2 separate regions of the Homo sapiens genome follow, and region 1 is linked to region 2. The links are contacts of gene promoters, found by promoter capture Hi-C in human tissues and cell types (Jung and others, 2019). All regions are on one chromosome and are shown on one strand. The core of a region is centred on a gene start or on the middle of the fragment in contact, and the rest is flanking DNA. Distances in the headings are between cores, read along the strand shown. Region 1 holds the start of LOC107986717 (a long non-coding RNA gene). Region 2 holds the start of SH2B2 (SH2B adaptor protein 2).

Region 1 (7,099 bases), core at 1,424-3,923, 44 kb before region 2:
TATAGTCTGGGTTTTTGTTTGTTTTTTTTGTTTGTTTTTTTCAGACAGAATCTCACTCTGTCACCCAGGCTGGAGTGCAGTGGCATGATCTCGGCTCACTGCAACCTCTGACTCCCGGGTTCAAGCAGTTCTCCCGCCTCAGCCTCCTGAGTAGCTGAGATTACAGGCGCCGTCCACTGCACCCGGCTAATGTTGTATTTTTAGTAGAGTCAGGGTTTCACCATGTTGGCCAGGCTGGTCTCGAACTCCTGACCTCCAGCGATCTGCCTGCCTCGACCTCCCAAAGTGCTGGGATTACAGGCGTGAGCCACCATGCCTGGCCCCTAAACAATATAGTCTTGATATTGTTGTAACCGAGCGAGTTATAGAGAAACGCCGCACCATGAGACTGATTTAGGAGTCCTTTATTGCCGGTGACTGAGAGATGGCTAGAGCTCAAAATTCTTTTGGCCCCGAAGAAGGGGCTAGATTTCTTTTTATACCGTGGTCTAAATAGGGGAGGGGGAGTTTAGCTGAAACAATTTTTACAGAAGCAGAACAGGGAAAAATTAAAAAGATTAATTGGTTACATAAATAGTTACAGAAAAATAAACAGTTCCAGGTGCAGGGGCTCAAACTACCACAAAGAGATAAATGCAGGGTCTTTTGGTATCATCCACCGAGCGAGTCCCCAAGAGCTGCTGGTTCAGCTTGCCTCGATACCTTATCAGTAAGTGCATTCCTAGACGTGCATGGAGTCAGCTTAGACTAGTTATGCCTTTAAGGGAGGGGGCTGCAAGTGAAGGAACTAAAATGGAGCCTGTCTGGCTCTCTCAGCTAAGAGAGACAATCACGTTAAAATAAGGTAGGGTATCACAATATAGGTAAGCATACAGCGTATATTTAATATGTCTGGCTTTTTTTTTCCATGTAGAGATGGGGTCTCACCACATCTCTACATAAAAGGTGGTTAACGAGATCCAAGGTGGTCTCCATCTCGTGGCCTCAAGTGATCTTGTAACCCCAGCCCCCCAAAGTGCTGGGATTACAAACATGAGCCACTGGTGCCCAGCCCTGGCTTCTTTTTTGTAGACATTATTTTAGAAGTCATTTTATTGTAACAACAGAAGTATTCATTTTCTCTGTAGTATGCTGTTCTATTTCATGACTCTCCACCATATATTTATCCCTCCTTCTTGCTCAGGGACACTGGATTGTTTTCCATTTTAACCTGCTATGAACAATTCTGCAGGGAATATTCTTTTTTTTTGTTTTTTTTGGAGACAGAGTCTCGCTCTGTTGCCCAGGTTGGAGTGCAGTGGCGTGATCTCGGCTCACTGCAACCTCCACCTCCTGGGTTCACGCCATTCTCCTGCCTCAGCCTCCAGAGTAGCTGGGACTACAGGTACCCGCCACCACGCCTGGCTAACTTTTTGTGTTTTTAGTAGAGACGGGGTTTCACTGTGTTAGCCAGGATGGTCTCTATCTCCTAACCTCATGATCCGCCCACCTCGGCCTCCCAAAGTGCTGGAATTACAGGCGTGAGCCACCGCGCCCGGTCTCTGCAGTGAATATTCTTACACAGAGGAGCAGGCATGGGGTATGTACTAATGAATGGGACTGCTGGCTCAGTGGTCCACCTGGCTTTCCACCCTACTAAATTGTTTTCCAAAGTTGTTATACTGGTTTATGCGCTCTCTCACTGCTCACCAGCAGGGTAGAATTCCTGATGTTTGCATCCTGCCTAAAGCTGGTGGGTGTAGCGTGGTATCCTAGGGTAGTTTTAGTTTGGATTTCTCCAGACTTCTCTAAGTTGAGGACCTTTTCATATTCACTGGCCGCTGTGATTGCTCTTTCGTAATGTACCTGCTCAAGTCTTTCACTCTTTTCTCATTGCAAACGTACATCCTAGGTTTCCAGCAGGAGCAACAGGCCTGTCGATTCTGACACAAGATGGGTGAATCGGTAACTTTTCTGGTTTGTTTTCCCACTGCTCATTATCCTTCTGTTTTCTTTAATGGCTTTCTGCCTAGATCAGGAGGGATGGACTTTCTTTTGAAACCCAGTAACACAACTGTTATTTCAGTACAGAGCTAAGACAGGAATAGCAGACATGGTTCAATGGTCCCTGCACCTAGAGAGTGCCGTGGAAACAGGGCCCAGTCACCCTCCAACTGCACTGCACAGTCCCATGAAACCAGAAAGACAACCCAGGTTGGAGAATGTCACCTTTCATTTAAGACCAAGTTTTGCAGGGTCTTTTTAATTTGTTTTTAAGTCTGCTACCTAACTTCCTTTGGGCTTTTATTTGTGAACTTATAACTTAGAGGACACGTAATCTCACTCTTCTAGCAATTTCTCTAGGAGATGATAACAATGTGGACAGACAAATAATTAGCAATAAAACATCTTGGCCAGGCATGGTGGCTCACATCTGTAATCCCAGCACTTTGGGAGACCAAGGCAGGAGGACCACTTGAACCTAGGAGTTCAAAACCAATCTGGGCAACATGGTGAAACCCCATCTTTACAAAAAGTACAAAACTTAGCCAGGTGTTGTAGCACGTGCCTGTAGTCCCAGCTATTCAGGAGGCTGAGGTGGTAGAATCACTTGAGCCCAGGAGGTCAGGGCTGCATTGAGCTGTGATCGTGCCACTGCACTCCAGCATGGGCAACAGAGTGAAACCCTGTCTCAAAAAAAAAAAAAAAAAACAAAAAAAAAGCAATCAAGCATCTCCAGGGTAAATGAGAGCAACATGAAGAATAAGCTGCTTATAAATACTTATAAGTTAAATTGATAAAAACAATATACCACATCATAATCTAGTCTCAGCAAGGAAAACAACAGGCCAACATTAGAAGGCACCAATGACATAAAACAGATCTTGAACATTTTGGTATTAGATCATGAAGGACTAGCTCAAGCTGCACTCAGGGCTTAAGAATCACAAGCCACGTTACACATACAGTACTTCAGACATTCTTCATTCCTGACTGAGTTTTTTTGAGACGGAGTCTCACTCTGTCGTCCAGGCTGCAGTGCAGTGTCATGATCTCGGCTCACTGCAGCTGCCGTCTCCCAGGTTCAAGCAATTCTCCTGCCTCAGCCTCCCCAGTAGCTGGTATTACAGGTGCCCACCACCACGGCCAGCAATTTTTTGTATTTTTAGTAGAGAAGGGGTTTCACCATGTTGGCCAGGCTGGTCTCAAACTCCTGACCTCAAGTGATCTGCCTGCCTTGGCCTCCCAAAGTGCCAAGATTACAGGCATGAGCCACTGCACCTGGCCCTTACTGAGCTTTGAATCCAGTAGATGCATTTTTGGCCCTATTGGAGCAGACAACCTACTGCCATTTGTGGAAATTAGCAAGCTTGTACACAAGCAATGTACAAATACAGGCTGGTTAAGAGAGATTGGAAATATGACTCAGGACTTATCATTAAGTAACAGAATATTACACAGGTAGTAGCCTTCCCTGTCACACACCTTGCTTTCAAATTTATTTTCAGTCAGCACGTAATTTTTTTTTTTTTTTGAGATGGAGTCATCCTTTCACATCCATCAGTAGAGATGGAGTTTCATCGTGTTGTCCTCTCGAACTCCTGACCTCAAGTGATCCACCTGCCTTGCCCTTCCAAAGTGCTGGGATTACAGATGTGAGCCACCATGCCCGGCCAGCACCCAATAATTTAATTGGCATACTTAACTCTGCTCCACCCGGAACAGACTTAAGACTTCTTAGACTTCTAAAGATTTTTTAAAGTCTTCTTTTTCCTTTTGGTTTCTTTAGTTTGTAGTTAAGGCTTTGCAGACTTGCCTCCTATAATGTCTCCTTTTATTTTTTATTTTTTAATTTTTATTTTTTGAGACAGAGTCTCACTCTGTCACCCTGGCTGGAGTACAGTGGTGCGATCATAGCTCACTGCAGCTTTGAACTCCTGGACTCAAGCAGTCCTCCCACCTTAGCCTCCTGAATAGCTGAATACAGGCACGTGCTACCACACCTGGCTAATTAGTATTATTTTTTTTGTAGAAATGGGATCTTGCTGTATTGCCCGGGCTGGTCTTGAACTCCTGGGTCAAGCCATCCTCCTGCCCTGGCCTCCCAAAGTGCTGGGATTATAGGCATGAGCCACGGTGCCCAGCCTTTGTCTTAGTTTTTGGTCCCCCTCACCTGACCCCACAGTTCTAGAACCATTCCCTTGCAAAGAAAGGGACTGCTCACGGCTGGGGATGGAGAAGTGCTGTGGTAGGAGCCCTTTCTTCTCTTTCTTCCCCAGCTGGATTGCCAAACCTACCCTGCGGTCCTCGTCTTCCTGGCCCCATAGCTCCTCCTCGCCAAGCATGTCTTCCCCACTGCAGAGAGCTGCGGGAGGTACCAAGAGGGCCTTGTCTGCATCTTCTAGTTCCTCTGCCAGTCTACCCTTCGATGACAGGGACTCAAACCATCCCTCAGAGGGTAAGTAGATGTTGCATTGTGCGGCCACTTCCTGTGTCCGTGGCAGCCTTCCCCCTCTCGTTTTCCCACATTGATGATAATATGCGTGGGACTGTGTGAATACACCAGAAGTGCTGTACTCGTTCAGCACAGTGACACCCTCCCTCCAGCTCCAGGTGTTTTTTTTGGGGGGTCCTAGATGTTGTAGACATCAAAATAGTAGTACATCCTGTTTTTTGTTTGTTTGTTTGTTTGTATGAGATGGAGTCTCGCCCTGTCGCCCAGGCTGGAGTGCAGTGGTGTGATCTTGGCTCACTGCAACCTCCGCCTTCCGGGTTCAAGCACATCCTGTTTTTAATCCATCATCCATCGTGTCTAAACCTCTCTTAAACACATTTCTGTGTTCAGCATGTACAACCCCTGGTGGGGGCTGGGAGGTGGCAGATGGGTGAGTAAAGAGTTCTTTACTTGTTGCCTGGTAAATTGTATAAACTTTTTATCTGGTGTCCCCTAGTTCTTCTGCTTGGGGATTTTGTAAACAGGTCTGTGTATCCTTATTTATTACCACATATGAGTTTATTCTGTATAGTTTATAATAATATATCTTGGTTTTTTAACTTTCCGGAAGGAAAAAAGCTAATGTCATACAGATCTGCTTTGTCCCCTGGCTGTTTTAATTGGCTTTCTCTGAATCATTTCTATTTCTGTCAGTGCTGCTGTGGTGTACCCGATTATATCAATGTTATAAACTTGAATTGATAAGACGTGGTTGATGTTTCACGGGGTGAAATTTAACTCTAGGTCCATATTACTCTCCCGTTTATGGATGAATGATGGATGACTTCCTGGGCCATGATTATTTTTCTCTACAAAGAGCAGTGATCTCTCTACCCGCTAAGTGAGTAGCATTTGATTCTCTTCTTCGGAGAGAATACTGGGAAGGGTTGTCCTTCCCCTCCTCATTTCCTCATTCTTCGTCTCCATTGCTTTCATGTGAAAGTTTTCCTTTAAGACTTTGTCCTGGCCGGGTGTGGTGGCTTACGCCTGTAATCCCAACACTTTGGGAGGCCAAGGCAGGTGGATCACCTGAGGTCAGGAGTTTGAGACCAGCCTGGCCAACATGGTGAAACACCTGTAATCCCAGCTACTCGGGAGACTGAGGCAGGAGAATCACTTGAACCTGGGAGGCAGAGGTTGTAGTGAGCCGAGATCACACCATTGCACTCCAGCCTGGGTGACGAGAGTGAAACTCTGTCTCAAAAAAAAAAAAAAGACTTTATCCCAACTTCCTACTAACAATAAGCTCATTTTTTCTTAAAATCTGAATATGTTTTTCTCATGGAGATGGGGTGCAGTGAGAGACAGAGAAACTAATTCATTAGCCTTTTATATGGAGGGAATTAGGGTGGTTATATTTAAAGAGAACGGTACTTTCTCACAGGAATACTGACTCTTTATTAGCTGATGAAGGCAGTGACTTTGAAGATAGCTTCAATCGCAATGTGAAGAAGAAAGCAGCAAAACGACCACCGAAAACAACACCGGTGAGTCAGCCAGTTTTCTTTTGTTTTTGAATCTTGTGGGGGAAGCAGCCCAGCTACTCGGGAGGCTGAGGCAGGAGAATGGCGTGAACCCCAGGGGCAGAGCTGGCAGTGAGCCGAGATTGCGCCACTGCACTCCAGCCTGGGTGACAGAGCGAGACTCTGCCTCAAAAAAAAAAAAAAAGAAAAAAACTTAAAAGAGGTTCAGGTGATATGGTTCAAAAAAGGACAAGATTTACAAAGTATTAAGGGACGGAAATAGGAAGAGGAGAAATTTTGAAGAGAAAAGAAGAGAAAAGGACGTTAGGATATAGAGATATAGGAAGGGGACTCAAGGACTTTTTTTTTTTAAGGGAAAAAAGTTAAACTTCATAACAGTATAAAAATCAATTATTTCAGGACTGAGTCTAACTCAGACTGTGCTGTGGAATGGGCAGCGTAAGCCTACTTGTGTGATAATGATGAGACCAAGTGTTAATGTCACTGTTACCTTTTTTTCATATTTCTGATCTTTTTATACATATTAGGTGGCAAACAACGAAAGAAAGGGTCCCGAGTGGTACATCGTCATAGCCGGAAACAGTCAGAGCCACCAGCCAATGATCTTTTCAATGCTGTGAAAGCTGCCAAAAGTGACATGCAGGTAAAGCCGTGTCTCACCTCTGTTGATACCATCTCACTTTTTGTAAGGTGGTAAGGACAAGTGTCTACAAACTTGATTTGATGTGAACATTTCAGTGAATGTAACATATCAAGAAAGATAAGATTATGGGGTGAATCCTTGGAGTAATAGAAGGGTAACCTTGAATGAGAGAGCATTTTTTTTTTTTTTGAGACAGAGTGGTGCAACTGACCTCCCAGGCTCCGGTGATACTCCCACCTCAGACTCCCAGGTGGCTGGGACTACAGGTGCATGCCATCGTGCCTGGCTAATTTTTTTGGTATTTTTTTGCAGAGAAGACAAGGTTGTGCCATGTTGCCCAGGCTGGTCTCGACCTCCTGGGCTCAAACAATCCTCCCGCCTCAGCCTCCCAAAGTGCTGGGATTATAGGTGTGAGCCACCGTGCCCGGCTGTTTTCTGTATTTTTTGCAGAGTAGGGTGTGTCTCGTTCTGTTGCCCAGGCTGTTCTTGAACTCCTGG
Region 2 (7,094 bases), core at 2,398-4,897:
GGAGGGCGGATCACTTGAGGTCAGGAGTTTGAGACCAGTCTGGCCAACACGGTGAAACCCCATCTCTACTAAAAATACAAAAATTAGCCAGGCGTGGTGGTGCACACCTGTAACCCCAGCTACTCAGAAGGCTGAGGCATGAGAATTGCTTGAACCCCAGAGGTGGTGGAGGTTGCAGGGAGCGGAGGTTGCAGGGAGCTGAGGTTGCACGCCACTGCACTCCAGCCTGGTCGACAGAGCAAGACTCTGTCTCAAAAAAATAAAAAAAAAAAAGGGGGGTATGGAGCCAAGTTCCAGGCTGGTCCCTTTCTGAGACCTGTTTCTGGGGAACTCCGCTTCCAAGGGCAGAGTGGGAAGACTGAATCCCTGTTTCAGGAAAGGAAATGACCACCTTTAGAGGATGGGGCACTCTGAGCGGCTGGGTGGGGGGGCGGGGGAATCCACAGCTGGGCTCTGCAGGAAGTGCGGGTCAGATAAGCAGGGAGTGGGGGCCAGGACAACAAGCTAAGCCAGGGCCTGTGGGCTCAAGAGGCAGACTCAGCCTCCTTCAGGAGCACCCAGTGCTGGACAGTTCCTGGATGGGCTCTGCAGGTGGAGGACAGGCTGAGCTGGTTCCAGCTGCACTGGCCCTGGTTACTCCCACCCCACCCTGCCTTTCTGGGGTTGCAGAGCAGAGGTTCCCCCCTCCCATCTCCAGCCTTGGCCTGAGACACTCAGCCCCTTCCACTCCCCCAGTGTCATAACTCTCACATGGGCCCTGGCCCAGCCCCCTAAACCTGCAGGATACCCCCTTAGTGCCCCTCACCAACTCATCCCACCCAGCTGCCTTCTGGCTTTTCCAGGACACTCATACCAGTGCCTCCTGAGACCTCTGGTGGCACCCCTAAGATCTGAGCATCCCCGAACTCTGGAGACTACAGGTGCTAATAAAGCTTCCCTGGGCCTTTCTCTGAGCTCAACTCCCAGCCTGGCTGATCTCCAGGTACCTCAAACTCACCACATCCAAGTTCAAATACATCCTCTTCCTCCAACTCCTGCCTGTCCTCTGCACAGAGCCTCAGCACCCAGCTGGGCACTGCCTACTTCCCCTGTTCTGCCCCAATAGCAGGCAGGCCCCCAAGCCCACAGAGGCCTCGGGAACGCCCCTTGATCCTCTTCCCACCTCCACCCTTGCCCCCTGCCCCTCCACCACACCACATGGCTGTGGCCTGTCTCTTCCACCGAACCGTGAGCTCCTGGCTGGTTGTCCTCCCCACCCCCCAGGTGGGCGCTACCCTCAGATGGCCCGGAAGTATGTGGAGAATGGGGCCCAAACCCTGCTTCACCCAGAGGAACCAAAAGATGCTGCACGCCCACACAGCGATGCCCTGCCTTGCTCTGCCCAAACAGGTGTGGGCTGTGACCTCGTGTTGAGGGGTCACACCTGCTATCCCCCTAGACAGAGCATAGCCATAAAACGGCACCCAGCCAGGTGAGCAGGGAAGAGAAACCTCCCCAGGCCCCAGGGCTCTGACCAGTCCCCTGGCCTCACTTGGACAGTAAGAATGAGCGTAGCCCCGGGAAGACAGCAGCCAGGAGGCCTGAAGCCCCTAAACCCCCAATTCCTTGCAACCCAGGCTGGGTAGGCAGGGCAAGAAGTGCCAGCCTCTTGTCAGAGAGGAGTGGTTGGGAGGCCTGGCTCGTTGACTGCGGGACTTTGGGCCAGTCACTTCCCCTCCCTAAGTGTGTGGGGATAATAATAGCACTAAACCCACAGGATTGTTGTAAAGATGACACGAACGGCGATCCTGATGCCCTTAGCTTGGCACAAGTAAGTTTGAAACCAAAAGCTCAGCCCTGGGAGGCCCAGGATCACTTGGGTGGAGATCCCACTTCCAAGACCCCCAAGGGAAGCCCACCCCTGGGTATTTGTATAGAAGTCCTCCCTAGGAGATTCACGCTAAGTAGGGAAGAGGGATTTAGAAACTTCAGACAGATTTTTCACAACAAGGGTAAAAAGAAAAGCGTGTGCATTAACCCTTGATTACCTAGAAGCATTCAACCAAGCAGCATCAGAAGCCGGCCTGCCACGGGGTGGGGCTGTTCTTGTATGTTGGTAGGACAGACCTCTAAGGAAGTAGCTGGTGGGAAACTGTCTCTGAGACCCCCAAAAATGCCCTGATCCACACTAGCCTAAAAGAAGTGCCACCACCGCCACCACCAGACCTCTCCCAAAGCTCCTGGAGCTGAAAAGTTCTAGGTCACTCTCCCAACCTCTTCCTGCGTGGAGTGGGGAGGCCAGGAGGGAAGAGGTTGGGAGAGTTCAAGGTGGGACACAGTAGTGGGGGCTTCAGCTCAAGAGGCAGTCAAAACCTCTTGGGGAAACCACACCCCCTGCCCCCAGTCCTCCCAGAGGAGCTCCAGGGACCTGACTCTGGGACGCAATTCCTGCCGGGAGTTGCCGGTCCCTTAGCCAGGAGGCAGGCAGCACCATCCCATTTTACAGGGTAGGTGATGTTGGCTCGGGGGCATTGGTAGGGCTCCACCCAGGTCTGACAGCCTAGCCTGAGGCTCTCCCTTGCACTAGCTCGAAGTGCACGTAGATCCTGGCTTATTCGTGTTCAGAGTCTCGCCTGGGGCTGCCCGGTCTGCCTTGCGTGGCTCCTGAGAGGCTCCAGTCACTGCAGACTTCCCTCCCTGAAGGCCCCCACTTCGGGGCTGCAGGGGGCCAGGATGCGTCCCTGCCTCTGCCCGGCTTCAGCCCGCTGGGCTGGCGCGGTTCCGGCCCGCGCAGCCCGCAGGTTCATCAATGGCCGAGGCCCAAGGGCCTGAATGGAGGGCACGAACCCGCCCCTTCTTAAAGGCGCCGGCCTCTTGGGCACCCTCCACGATCCTCCCGGCAATCGGGGGCTCCGGGGAGCTCCCCGGCTGGGCAGGTCGAGAAAGGGGGGCCTGGGCCAAAGGGAGGGCGTGCCTGTGGCCTGGAGGAGGTCCTCCCCGATCCCATCCCGTGGCCCTCACCCTCATTCTAGGTTGACGCCCCCTCCCAGCGCTCCCAGCGTAGGGAAGAGACCTGGGCACCCCTTCCCCCAACCAGAGACCCCTCCTCTAAGGACCCGGCTGCTCTCGCCCCACTACCCGGCCGGGGCCCTAGCAGGGGGCGGGGGCGCAGCTGCTCCAGAGGCGGCTCGGCCCCTCCAGCGGCTCCCCGCCCCGCCCGGGATGGGGATCGGGGAGCAGATCCCAGCCGGGGGCGCCTCCCCTCCCTCGCGCGCCCTCCTCCCTCCCACCCGCGCACACAAAGACGACACGCGCGGACCAAGGCGCGTGCGGCCGCTCTCCTTCGGGCAGCGGTGCGCACACAGCGCACGTCCCCGGGGACAGACAGGGGTCCCGGGGGAAGGACCAGGGAGCGAGGAACTGGGTATAAGGAGGCCATACCTACAGGCGCGCAGCTGCGGCCGAGCGGGCTGGGGCGCCGGCTGAGCGCTGCCCGGACCGCGGCCGGGCTCCCCGGGCCCGGTGGCTCATGGCCCGCGGCGGACTGGGCTCCCTCCCTCGTTCACCGCCTCGAAGGCTCCTGCGCTCCTCGCGGTCCCGGCGCGTCCCCCGCGCGGCTCTCTGGCAGCCGAGCTCCGCGCGCTCCAAGCCCAGCCCCAGCGCGGCGCGCCCCTCCGCCCGCGAGGCGCGCGCCTCCCGGCCCCGCCCCGCCCCCGCCCCCGCCGCGAGCCCCGGCCCCGCCCCCCCTCGCGCGTCCTGGCCCCGCCCCCTCCCGCCCCCACTTGCGCCGCTCAGGCCCCGCCCCCGGCCATCCGCGGAGCCCGAGCGGCGCCGGTGGCCGGTGCTTGCTGGCTCCCCGCAGCTGCGGTGCCGAGACTGCCCGGTCCTGGGGCCCGGAGAGAGGGGTTAGGAGCCGGCTCCGAGTCGCCCCATCTGGGCGGGGGTCCCCATGTCGCCGAGCCGGCCCCAGGCCAGGCGCGGGACTCCCACTCCTCCTCGTGGAGGCCACCCCTCGAGCCCGCGGTGGTGGTGGCCCCGGGAGCGCGGAGCGTGGGGCCGGGGGAATGTCCTGCGTGGCGGGTGTATGGGACGCGGACGCCCTCGAAGCGCCCCTCGCTGACGGGTGCTTCGCGGGAGCCGCCGCTGTGGCCAGACTCTCCGCAGCAGGGACAATGGGAGCCTGGAGGAGGCCTGGATGTCGCAACGGAGGAAGTCGACGCCTGGTTCTCATAAATCTCGAGGGCGCCACCACGCCCCCTCCCTGCAGCCCTCCGGTGCGGGAAATCGCCCCCGGGCCACAGGGCGGGACGGCCCCCCTGAGCGCAGTGCCCCCACCACCCAGCCTTCGCTGTGATGGGGGCCTGATGCCACCCGGAGAGGTGTCAGAGATCATAGAGGGGCGATGAGGGGCCACAACCCTGGCACCTTCCTCACCCCTGCCTGGCTCCAGAACTCGCCTGCTTTAGGGCAGAGACCAGTGGGGCTGAGGAAACAGTCCCGCTGGGCTTTGCGGGGCATTTGTAGCCTGACCCCTGGTGCTGAGGGCACAGCGCGGGGGCTCTGGGAGGCTTCCTGAAAGAGGTGCAGGGGGCTCAGCAGGCCTGGAAGGGGTCTGAGAGGGGAGGGAGGGCTTCGGTGGGGGCAGAGGTGTGGAAAGGGCCGCTCAGAGAAGAGAGTAGTCTTGCTCCTGGAGATAGCAGGGGGGGACCCCTGGGTGTCTTCTCCCCTCATCTCCCTCCTTGTCCCCTGCCCCCACCTCTGGCAGTTCTGTCCTGGTCTCCTTGCCAGCCGGAGCTGCCTCCATCTGTCGCCCTCCCGGGCCCAAACTGACCTCTGACTTTTCCCAGAGCCATTTCCCATCTCTAATTTACAGACAAGGGTTTTTATCAAACCCTTCTTAGGGATGGAAAGGTGGGGCTTCCAGAGTTGAAGGTGGAGGGGACAGAGCCTTCACCTGCTGCCCAAAACCCCGGTGCTGCCCTCCACGGGGGCACGGAAGACAGGCAGACCCCTTCCCTGCCCCACATCTCGGCTCTGTTCCCTCCGCAGGACCAGGCCAGCAGACACTTTAATGAAAGCTTCGGCAGTGGGCCAGCCCTCGATCGGAGCTGCACACAGGCCTGCACGCCTGGTTGGGAACCAGGACACCTATGAATGAGGCCGGGAAGGGGGAGGAGGGGGTGCCCGAGAGTGGGAGAAAGGGAAGCTCCATACATGGCCTGGTTGTGGTCTCCACCCTCCTGGGAGAGGGGAGAGCCTGACCCGCGGTGGACTAACCTGGTTCAGAGTAGTGGGCTGAACTCCACTGCTGGGATGATAGCGGCCAGAGAGGGTCCTGAGATGGGAAGCCATGGGCAGGACAATAGCTTGGATCCATCCCCAGGGAGGAAGAAGTGAGGAGGGGCCGGCGGCAGAGCGCCTCGGACCCACAAGGAGGAACTGATGGAGATGTGGAAGTGGCTGTGGGGGTGGAGGGGGCGTGGTTGGCCAAGAGCAGCTGTCGCCTCGCTGGGGATAGGAATGAAGGTCAGGGAGGAAAGGTCCATCCTGGGTCCCTGAGGGCAGGAGGCTTGAGGGGCTTGGAAGAAGTCCTCATGGGGGAGATGAGGGGTGCTGGGACGGGGACCCCAAAGAAAGGCCCCTGGATACACATGCTTTAGACTGTTCAGAACTAAAATGGAGACAGAGGTAGCACAGGGGACCCTGGCCTGGTGGGCTGCAGTGGGGGACCTGGGTTTGCAGCCAGTCTTGTGACAGCTGGACAATGAGTTAATGCACCCACTCCAGACCCAGAGAATGCGCTCCTCTATCTGAGGCTGGGCTGGAGGTGAGGTGGCCCAGAACCTGTGTCTCGGGGGGTTCCCATGCGAGGCTGGTGCTCAGGGAGATTGATGGGCACGGGCTTTGCAGCCCCTGGCAGGCGGGGGCCCATGGGAAAGGGGAGCACAGAAAGGGAAGCAGAGATTCCCCAGGAACTGACGTGGACCAAGACACGTCATACACCCAACCACAGCCCGACAGGTGGTTTTTTTTTTTTTTTTGAGATGGAGTCTCACTCTGTTTCCCAGGCTGGAGTGCACTGGCACGATCTCAGCTCACTGCAACCTCCGCCTCCCGGGTTCAAACGATTCTCCTGCCTCACCCTCCTGAGTGGCTGGGATTACAGGCATGCGCCACCATGCCCAGCTAATTTTTGTATTTTTGGTAGAGACGGGGTTTCACCACGTTGGCCAGGCTGGTCACGAACTCCTGACCTCAAGTGATCCACCTGCCTCGGCCTCCCAAAGCGCTGGGATTACAGGTGTGACCCACCGCGCCTGGCCCCGGGTGGTTTTTGAATAAAGGAATGGGTTTCCCTTTTTGATGGTGCTACTTGTCCTCTCAAAAGCACTCGGACACTGGATCTGGGTTTCAGCAGAGCTCTGAATGTACTCATGGAATTCCTGGAGATGAGAAGAGGGGGAGGAATGTTCTGTGTGCCCAGCTGTGAGGCCAGCCCCAGCTCCCAGGGGTGGCACCGCAGGCATCCCCACCAGCCTCCAGTCCCTCCAGCGTCCCAGAGCACAGGGCACCAGGGTGGCTGCAACCGTGGTTTATTTCAAATGTGCAAAGCTAAATATGCAACTACAAATCTAACTCAGGAAGGCCTGCCAGTGGCCCTGAGAGGTGGCCGTGCTAGGGTGGTCCACAGCCAGTTCTGATTGGCTAGGAGACGTTCAGACCCCTCATACCAATCCATGAGTCTGAAGAGACTGGGGCTCGGGGGCTCATTAGAGACTCTTCCTTATCTAGAAACCAGAATATCTTGCTAAAGAAGAAAGCAGAAATCACATGGGTCTGGGGGCAGGGAGGGGGTAATAGAAACTGTTCCGCTGGCTGGGGCTCTCTCTCTTGGGGTGCAGTGGGGGAGGGGGCAGACTCTGTCAAGCCTCATATACTCTGCAGGGTGGGGCTGGTGGCAAAGGCAGGCTGGGGGTGCTGGACTCAAAGCCTGCTGTCCTGGAAGGAAGCGTCTTCCACCTCTTACGGGGCATGGGGGGATCCTAGGAGAGCCCAAGAGGATCGCAGTGCAGACAGGCCCAAGCTGGATTAACCGCAGCTGGAATCGGTGGTCA

What was found. Contacts are between HindIII fragments. The study calls those that stand out against the background at their distance.
Region 1: a contact is called between a fragment that was not itself captured here and the fragment with the promoter of SH2B2 in region 2, in 2 of the 25 tissues and cell types used here (lymphoblastoid cells and spleen).

What each region holds. Positions count from the first base shown.
Region 1 is chr7:102,326,755-102,333,853 of GRCh38, reverse strand. LOC107986717 (a long non-coding RNA gene) reads left to right here and starts at 5,225. Exons shown (of 3, transcript XR_001744970.3): 1 at 5,225-5,315; 2 at 5,879-5,961; 3 at 6,486-6,809. The HindIII fragment of the contact is 5,280 bases long and covers 34-5,313 here.
Region 2 is chr7:102,283,421-102,290,514 of GRCh38, reverse strand. It overlaps SH2B2 (SH2B adaptor protein 2), which reads right to left and starts at 3,647. Exons shown (of 9, transcript NM_001359228.2): 1 at 3,421-3,647. It also overlaps a transcript of CUX1 not described here. RefSeq lists silencers at 420-499, 3,140-3,679, 3,750-4,329, 6,107-6,291 and enhancers at 850-989, 1,180-1,229, 1,900-1,989. The HindIII fragment of the contact is 12,688 bases long and covers 2,995-7,094 here.